Linked DNA regions of Homo sapiens: region 2 is linked to region 1. The links are contacts of gene promoters, found by promoter capture Hi-C in blood cells and fetal thymus (Javierre and others, 2016). All regions are on one chromosome and are shown on one strand. The core of a region is centred on a gene start or on the middle of the fragment in contact, and the rest is flanking DNA. Distances in the headings are between cores, read along the strand shown.

What was found. The method cuts DNA at HindIII sites, captures the fragments that hold promoters and counts their contacts. A CHiCAGO score of 5 or more calls a contact.
Region 2: a contact is called between a fragment that was not itself captured here and the fragment with the promoter of HEPACAM2 in region 1, in 1 of 17 cell types (neutrophils). The highest score is 5.8, in neutrophils.

What each region holds. Positions count from the first base shown.
Region 1 is chr7:93,224,793-93,229,400 of GRCh38, reverse strand. It overlaps HEPACAM2 (HEPACAM family member 2), which reads left to right and starts at 2,932. Exons shown (of 10, transcript NM_001039372.4): 1 at 2,932-3,033. The coding sequence starts at 2,955. The HindIII fragment of the contact is 7,149 bases long and covers 883-4,608 here.
Region 2 is chr7:92,817,278-92,822,008 of GRCh38, reverse strand. All of the region lies in intron 2 of CDK6 (cyclin dependent kinase 6), which reads left to right. Among named protein-coding and RNA genes, the nearest start is that of CDK6-AS1, 17 kb to the left of the region's middle. The HindIII fragment of the contact is 4,514 bases long and covers 848-4,731 here.

The DNA of each region.
Region 1 (4,608 bases), core at 1,683-4,182:
GCCATAACAGAAAACAGAACACTTGCCAAAGGTAAAGTAGTGACCTAAAGAGGTGCCCAGGAAGAAGACATTACTGCTTAGTATTTAGCAGCCATATAAGATAGATCAAGGCTTCCACGAGGCAGCTTTGTAGACTTTACAGAAGTGAACACTAGCACAGGCATAGGCATATGTGATAGCCTCCTCTGGCAGCTAACTCTCCCTGTAAACTGGAGAGAATCCACTAATTACAACAATAAGAAACATTTCTTTCCCCAGTTCTTATTCCCCACTGTTCTGCATCTACATTGACCTTGGCATTTCACCACCTCTCCTTAATTGTTTCTGCCACTGCAAAACATGCGTGTGCTAGCTACTTGTGATTAAAAATGTGGATGTTTGAAATGCATGCAGCAGACATTTACTGTATGAAGTAATACCAGTCTGCAATTTAAATAAACTAGATTGTAAACTGTGTAGTGTGATTTGAGAGGTAATAAAAATCCCTGCCCCCAACAAACATACACACACATACACACACACACACACACACACACCCTCCTGCACAGGAGTATATGTGTCCATATCCCATTGTAAATGCACGTGGACACACACACGCATACTCTATCCCAGTGGCTCCTTACATTGCTTGCAGTTTAATCACCGTGGATATAGATTGTTTTAGGTTAATCAGCCTTCTCATTTTAAATGCAAATATAACTAAGATTGGTAAACAGTAACACTACAGGCCCTTTTTTCCTGACTGGAATGATAACAGCAGAACTTCCCAGTGGGTTACAGGTGTGATGTGAGATATGGATGGTAGGAAAATTCTTATAATTATAAAACCTTCAAACTATTTTTAAGAATCATGTAAAAATTAACAATTGTTGAAGTTAAGCTTGAGCACTCTTTTTCTCACTTCCTGTGTAAACATGTTGAAATCAGAAGTTACTCCAGCAGGTAAGAGTTTATATCTACAGTTTACCACTAGAGGGCGCTTTGTCATGATTATCCCAGTAGCCCTTTCCCTAGATGTGCCGTATTATATTTCAATATGTGCCATGAAATAAAAAGATTACAAGTAAGATTCATATGGCATTTATTTTTTAATGTAGCATCTACTATCACCTTATGTCATGAAACAGGGAATATTTTCAAATACAACAAAGAAAATCTCAGAATAAAAAACTCCTTTATATTGAGTATATTTAACACTAGGGAAAAACACAGTACATTGTCTTTATTTCTCTTTTTGCCAGGGACCCAACAAACTTCATTATAATCCAGCACTAGATTGAAAAACACTGAAAACAGCTAATTTGATAACGGCAATTGGAGATTAATATCAATCTAAAAGATGTTGGGGGAACCTATGTGATATCTGTAGAACTTCCATATTACTTTCCAAATTGTATTTTGTGCAATCCAATATTAAAATTTATTTGTATTTCTTACGCATCAACTGAGAATCGTAAGACGGGCCAAGGAGCACTTAGAGTTTTGTTTTCTGGAGAAACAACTTAACAAAAATACCAGTTAAGCATTATGCTACGTGCCCAACATCCATGAATGAATAAGATTATTCTCTGTATTCGAGAGCTCAGAGGGAAAATAAACATCCAATAAAATAAAGATTAAGGAGATAAGTGCTGCAATAGATGTGTGTACCAGATTTAGAGACAGTGCAGAGAAAGTTGTGGCATTGTTATTATTTTGCAGGGAGGTGGGGGAAGCATGAGGAGCTCTTGCCATTTTTCTGAAGCATGGAGGGATCTGAAAGTGACTGATCTCTGAAGAGGACTTCGTTTTCCCAATAGTCACTTACTTTCTTTGCTTATAGAAGTCCTTCTAGAAGAGTTCAGAGCCCTAATGCAAAGAGTGTTTCCAAACTTGGATTCCAAAGTTACTATCATTCCTTTTTTACTTTAATTATGCTTGAGGTATAGTCTTCCTTCCCCTCTTATCATTGAACTTCTTCAGTGGGCCTTTACTGTTAAAACTGATGCATGCAAGGAATTTTCCTTGATTTGATGATTTGATGCAGATTTGGATATATCCTTAACATTTTATATAACAAGGCTAGAACCAGAGCCTTCTTGCAAATAGGGGTTAACTAATAACTTAGTAAATTAAGCGGACATGCTTAGACTATCTGCTGCCATGACAATGGAGAGACCAGGTTGAAAACCTGTAACCTGGACACTGCAGTAGAGGTAAGATCTTTTCTAGATCATTGGTTCACTTCCTCTATGCATCAGCTGTGAAAATGTGGCCTCAGATACTATCTCCTGGCATGCACTTTTCATTATAATTATGCATGGTCCATGCCTCAGTCCCAGTTGGAAACACACCTGTGATTTGCTTTTAAAAATAAGATGAATTCAAAGATTAAATGAAATCAGTCATTGTAATAGGAAACACTGCATAGAAAAAATACGTTTTAAATATATTCTGGATCTCTCTTTTGATTCATTGGTAGAATTTTTACATGTTAGTGACTTCATGAAGATTTATAACTGTTTAGCAGATACATGAGCTACTTCAATTTTCATATAATTTTTTTTAATTTTAAAATAATAATGGCATAGTTCTGCATGATAGAAAACCAGCTTTTGTTTTTAAGGAAATCTCACAATATTCTTTCATTATGAAAACATGCCATTTTTCAGTAAAGTCACGCAAAAGGATGTTTTCCTTCATGTGATTTTTTAATAACTAAGTATAATTTATGAAATATATAGACAATTACTGGTAGTTGCTAAGAAACTCTTCTGAAAGCCATAAGCCTGTATTCTTGCTAAGCACATAACAGGTGTTCCCACTCCCTGTGTCCTTTGTATACACATTCATTCTGTATTCAAATCACAGAAGCAAGAGGCAAGATAGGGTCTGTTACCTCACTGCTAATTTCCCTAGCAAATAAACCAGCAGCTGCTGGTCCAAGTTACCACTGAGAACAGGGCACTGCATGCATGGGACAGGATGCTTTCATGGAGCCCTTCGGTGACACACTTGGGGTCTTTCAGTGCAAAATATACCTCCTTCTCTTCGGTAAGGCCCTGTGTGAATTGTGTTTTAGCTGTTTGTTAGGTTTTTTTTTTTTAATTGTGGACATAAGGTAAATATTTGCTTTAGGCTGTAGATGCATTCAGATAATTGAAGAGCAGGTCAGAACCTTTTAACAATAACACACTGTTACAGCAAAGAAGCAGGAACATTTAAGAGAAATGAGTTTCAATAAATAGATTGTTATTGTTTTCTTGGAACAACAATTATTGTCATAGCACTCATTAAGATAATTCAGATATTTTTAAAAGATAATGAATTTCTTCTTTTAGAGTTTACATATAGGTTCAATAGTCTTTAATGCATTTATTTCAGCAAATATTCTAATAGGCCATGAAATTGTGACCACTTAGAGTGAAACTACAAATAATTTACGAAAATTGTTTTCTTTTTAATTAAAGATATTGTTGCAAACTGTTTACTGCTTCGTTTTAAGTTATCTGTCTCATCTTATGAAATATGGAAGAAAGGTAAGATTCCAAACTAACAAAAAAATTTCCTACACAAAAGGGAGAACGTATTTGAAAAGATTGTTACTCCAAAATGCCTTTAGCTTTTCTCTTTGCCCAATGGCTAGTCCTATTAAGAATTTTTTTCTACCTTAATATTTTCCCTCATTCTCCTCTTTATCTTTTGAGTTTAAAGGAGTCTCTTTCCAGCATTCCAACTGCTGTCTGTCAACATTATTTTCACCAGATGTTCTCATTTCCATTCTTCCTATTTATCAGTTTTAAAAGTCAAATCAATTTCTTGTTTTGTTTATATTCAACAGATAGGAGTTCAATTAAGGCTACATTTTTTAAAAATTAAGAACAGCTTAGCAAAATAAGCAATTTAACTTTTAGGCTTCTTCAGCTATTTAGAGCTTTACTTTCACTCCTATATTTTGTTAAAGTTTGCATTGTAAATGTTATTATTCAAATTCATACCTACTGTTGTACCTATCTCACACATTTGAAATGTACAGTTTGTAAATTTTTTTAAGTCTTTGAGTTTCCCAGAGTTGTGATTGTTCCAGTTATCACAGTATTTATGTTATCAAATTTAAGCCTATAATAGATTTTTGTTTTCTAAAATTTTTTGAAAAAGTAAATAATTATTATAACTGTCACTACCTTTGTGCATTTGTCTTCCTTTTGAAAGTATCCTGGGTCATCATCCCACTTATTTTTATATTTAAAACAGTAGGACTACTATCATTTTATAAGTGTTGTTTTTGAAACTGGCGTTAAGAAGAACTTAGAGACAATTTAGTTAAGGAATTCAACTAAAATAAAACAAATGTACATTAGGAAAATAGCATGTTCATAAATAGCTAAAGCAGTTTTTATACCTTAAGACCTTCTCTCTTCTGCAAATTTGCTTTTCTCCATAGGCAGTGTGTTGTAAAGACCACAGATGACTTGGCAATCTTTGCTTTTAGGAATATTGAAGTTTTGTTTGCTTCTTCTTTTTAAAAAATTTTTAAAAATTTGAAGCCTAAAATGTACAGTTTGTACAGTTTATTCAAAACACATCATAATTTCTATTTTCTCTAAAGATGCAAGATTTTATTTTCAG
Region 2 (4,731 bases), core at 1,855-4,354, 410 kb after region 1:
GTCCTTACAAGTAGGGATGTCCATGTAATATGTATGTCATATTAAAATATTGACATGCATTCCCCTAAAGAGCCTTGTATAAATGGCTATCACTGCCTTTATAAGCAGTGAAGCCCAAGTGGCCAGTCCCATTATGAACCTTGTCCCATTACTTCTGTTTGGGGCTACCATTCCAAGCACCTTCCTCCTCTGCTTAGAACAGCTGATTGTGATCACGTAATGGGTTGTGACATCACTGATAATACTAATATATTATTACATAGCAATAAACTAATTATATATATAACATAATTTATACAATATATATAGTAATGAAAGAATTAAGGAAAAGAAAGGGAAAGAAGGAATGAAGAGAGGGAGTGAGTAATAGAATAGAAAAGAAAAAAAATTGTGGTGTTCCCAGTCAGTTGTCAGATATGTTTCAAGGAAGTTGTTAATAAAGTAGAGTACCAAAGTTTGCAGGTGAGGAGAGTTATTTGCAGTTTTTTGTTTAAAATAATTACATTTTTCTATTAAAGCAATTTTTCTGGTTAATATTGCTTGTAGTAAATTACTCCAACATGTAGGGGCTTAAAACAACCATTATCTTATATTCATGAATTTAGCAGGTGGGGAATTCAGACAGAGCACAGTGAGAATGGCATATCTCTGTTCCAAGATGTCTGGGACATTAGCTGGAAATTACTCAAAAACTGGTAGTTTGATTATTCTAGGCGTCTTCACTTTCAAGCCTGGTGGTTCATGCAAGTTGGTTGGCGAAGGCTGGGATCTGAACTCAGGTTTTTGAGCAGAGCACCTACACTGACCTACACCAGGTGGCCTGGGCTTCCCTTTCAGCATCAAAGCTTCAGAATAGTTGAATGTACATGTTGGCTCATGGCTTTAAAAGTTGGTGTCCCTGAGAACAAGCAGTGTTAATTATGCCACGTTTTGTTGTTTATATTTGAGTTCAAAGCCCCAGAGATTCAAGAGGTAGAGACATACACCACCTCTTAATGGAAGGAATGTTAAAGAATTTCCACCCCCCCACCCCCAGCTTTTTTGTAATCATGACATTAATACTAATACTAAATAGTATGAAAGGGCTTATGATAAAAAGGCAAAGCTCCTGCCCCAGTTCTCAGATACAGCTATTCCTATTCCCAGTACTCAGATACAGCTTCTTTTCACTGTCTGTTTTTGGTGCTTCTGTTTATGGTCTCCATAAATTTAGATAATATGCTGTTGCTCTAGTTCTTGATATTTAAACTTCAGTAATATCTATTGACTTTCTACTCTGAAAAATGAGGACTTACCTTGTTAATATTACTGTGTATTTCCTTCGCTTTCTGTGAGATAGGGATATTTTTATTTCATATAATAATTTTAAATAATATCCCTAAACTTCAATTTTTCATACTTTCACTTTGGGCAGTATCTCTTGATTCTCCATTTAGTAAGAGGAGAATATTTTATCCCCGTAACCTTTCTTCCACTTATGTTCTCCCTTTAACATCACAATTTCTATCAGCTACTTTGCTAAAATTGTTTATTTGCATTCTGTTCCGTACTGCAACAGAGGCTTCCCTGCTTTTCTAAAGGTTGACCCTTGCAAGTTGAACACTGGTAAACAGTGCTTACATTCTTCTGACTATATAGAGAGAGTTCAGTGCTAGGCCAAATATTCAGCCCTTATGTTTCCTTCTCTCCAGGTTCAACATTATAACCCTATGAAGCTGATGGAGTCCTTCTTTTGTAAAAACAGACATCTGGATTCTCTTTCCTTATTCTGCATCACTTGTTTAAAATATGCCCTATTTTCGTGTACTTTTTATTCAGGCCATGACTTTCTTGTATCATTTTGTTTTTCCTGGAGTTTCTAATTGCCTTTTTATTTTTTCTTGCCATGTTTGCCTTTATCACAATCTGTGTTCTCCAGAAATACTATGTGTCTACATATGGTGGGTTTCCCGCCACCATTTAATTTGCTGGGCATTCTGTGGAATCTTTCTAAGTGCAGATTTGCTTCGTTTTATTTTTTTTAATGGCTGCTTCTTCATCATTTGTTCTATTCTCTTTACAAGGTTCTTCTGTTAGTCAGATATTTGATCTTGCAGTTGGGATCTCTGTGTCTCTTCTTTTAATCTTTTTTCTAATTCATCTCTTTTCTCTGGTTTTTGCTTTGTATTCTAAAGAAACTTCTATATTATTTTCCAAATGTCTACTGAATTTACTCTCAGTAATTAATATTTTTAACTTCAAAACATCATTTTTTGTTCTCCACTTGTTGGTTTTTAAAGCATCCTCCTCTGGTTTTCTGTAATATTTCTTTGAATTACTGTGAATTTTTTTAAAGTCCTCCACATTATCTCTGTTTCTGTCAGTGTTTAGTTTTTTTGGTTAACTTTTTTGTTTTTCCTGTGGCTGAATTTTTTAAATGCCTGGTGATCTTTGAATATCCTTTGGCTTTTTTAAAGTCAAAACGAGCTAAAGGTATAATTTTTATACAGTAAAATACACCCATTTTAAGTGTGTGCTTTTTATGAGTTTCGACAAATTTATTCACCTACTAACCACCACCACAATCAATATCTAAAATACTCGCATTATCCCACAGGGCCCTTTGCAGTGAATCTCCTCCCTCTACCAGGACCCCTGCCAACCTAATCTTCTTTCTGTCATTATAGATTTGTCCTTTCTAGAGTTTCATATACACAGTATCAAAGAGTATTATGTTCTATTATATCTGGCTTTCATTGATAGTGTTTTTGAGATTCATTTATGTTGTTGACTGTTTGAGTAGTTCATTTTCCATTATATGGATTTACCACAATTTGTTTATTCATTCACCTGCTGATGATCATTTCTGTTGTTTCCAGTTTAGGGCTGTTATAAATAAGGCTGTTGTGAATATTTGTGTACAGGTCTTTGTATTGATATGACATATGCTTCATTTGTATGGTAAATACCTACAGGTAGATTGCTGACTGGTATGGCAATTGTGTATTTAATTTTTAAGAAATTGTCAAACTTCTCCAAACTGGTTGTTCCATTTCCAGTGCTAGTGTATAAAGGTTCCATTTGATTTGCACCCTCCTGAACACTTGGGACTGTCAATCTTTTTATTTTTAGTCATTCTATAGTGAGTGTGAACTAATAACACATTGTGATTTTAATTTGCATTTACTTGATGACTAATGTTGTTGAATATCTTTTCATTTGGCTATTGACCATTCTGATACCTTCTGTTGGGAAGTTTCTGTTCAAATTGACCGTTTTTTAAAATTGAGTTATCTTATTGTATTGTAAGAGTTCTTGAGCAGTCTTTTGTCAGCTACATGGATTACAAATATTTTCTTCAGGTCTTTGGCTTACCTTTTCATTTCCTTAATGCTTTATGTCAAACAGAATATTTTAATTTAACCTAAGTCCAATTCATCTTTTTTTTTCTTTGATAGCTTATGCTTTTTTGTATCCTATCTAATAAATATTTGTTTACCTCCAGGGCATATAGGATTTTTCCTATGTTTTCTTCTAGAATTTTATAGTTTTTGCTTTTATTTTAGATTTGTGATGCATTCAAGTCAAGTCTTTGTGTTTGGCTTGAGCTAAGAGTTCAGGTTCATTTTTCCTGTATGGATATCCAGCTATTTCCGCACCATTTATTGAAAATACTTTGCTTTCTTCATTTTGAATTACCTTGGCAGCTTTGCTAAACATTAGTTGAGCATATACATTTGGGCCTGTTTTTAGACTCTTTGTTCTTTTGCATTGATCTATATATCTATCCTTTTGCCAATGTCATACTTTGATTACTATAATGTATAGGTCTTAATCAGGTAGTATACATTTTCCAGCTTTGTTCTTGTTTTTCAAAATTGTTGTTGCTCTTCTTTTGTATTTTCATATAAATTTTAGAGTCAGCTTGTTAGTTAACACAAAAATTCTCCTATTGGGATAGCATTTAATCTCTATTAATTAGGGCGAAGGCATAGATATTGACACTGACTTCTGATCACGAACATGGTGTATCTCTTCATTTATTTAGGTCTTTAATTTCTCTCATCAGAGTTTTGTAGCTTTTAGTGTAATGCCCTTGCTTGCATTTTATTAAATTTATCTCTTTGCATTTAATGTTTTTGGATGTTATTGTAAAAGGCATTGTTTTTTCTTTTTAAGTGTTTGTCATTGAGAGCTATAGTCTTTTTTGTATAGTGACCTTGTGTCTTGTGATCTGAAAAACTCCCTTATTAGTCTGGTAGCTTCTTTGTAAATTTTAGTTTTTTTACATACACAGACACATCATCTGAGAATAGACAGTTGTACTTTCCCCCCTATATATATATATGTCTTTTATTTCTTTTCCTTTCTTTTTTTGCCCTGGCTAGAACCTCTAGAAAAATGTCAAATAAAAGTGGTGAGAGCAGATGTTTTTGGCTTGTTCCCAATAATAAGGAGAAAACTATTCAGACTTTTGCCCTAAAGTATGATGTTAGCTGTAAGTTTTCCTAGGTGTCCTTTATCAGATTGATGAAGTTCCCTTATATTCCTAGTTTGCTTAGAGAGTTTTTCATGATTGGGTACTGAATTTTGTCAGTGTTTTTTCTGAAGAATTGAATTGATTATTTTTTTAAAAACTCTGTTATTGTGCTGTGAATTATACTGATTGAATTTTGAAAGTTAAACCAAGCTCACATTCCTGGGATAAACCCTACTTGGTCATGATGTAGCCTTTTTATATATTGCTAAAAT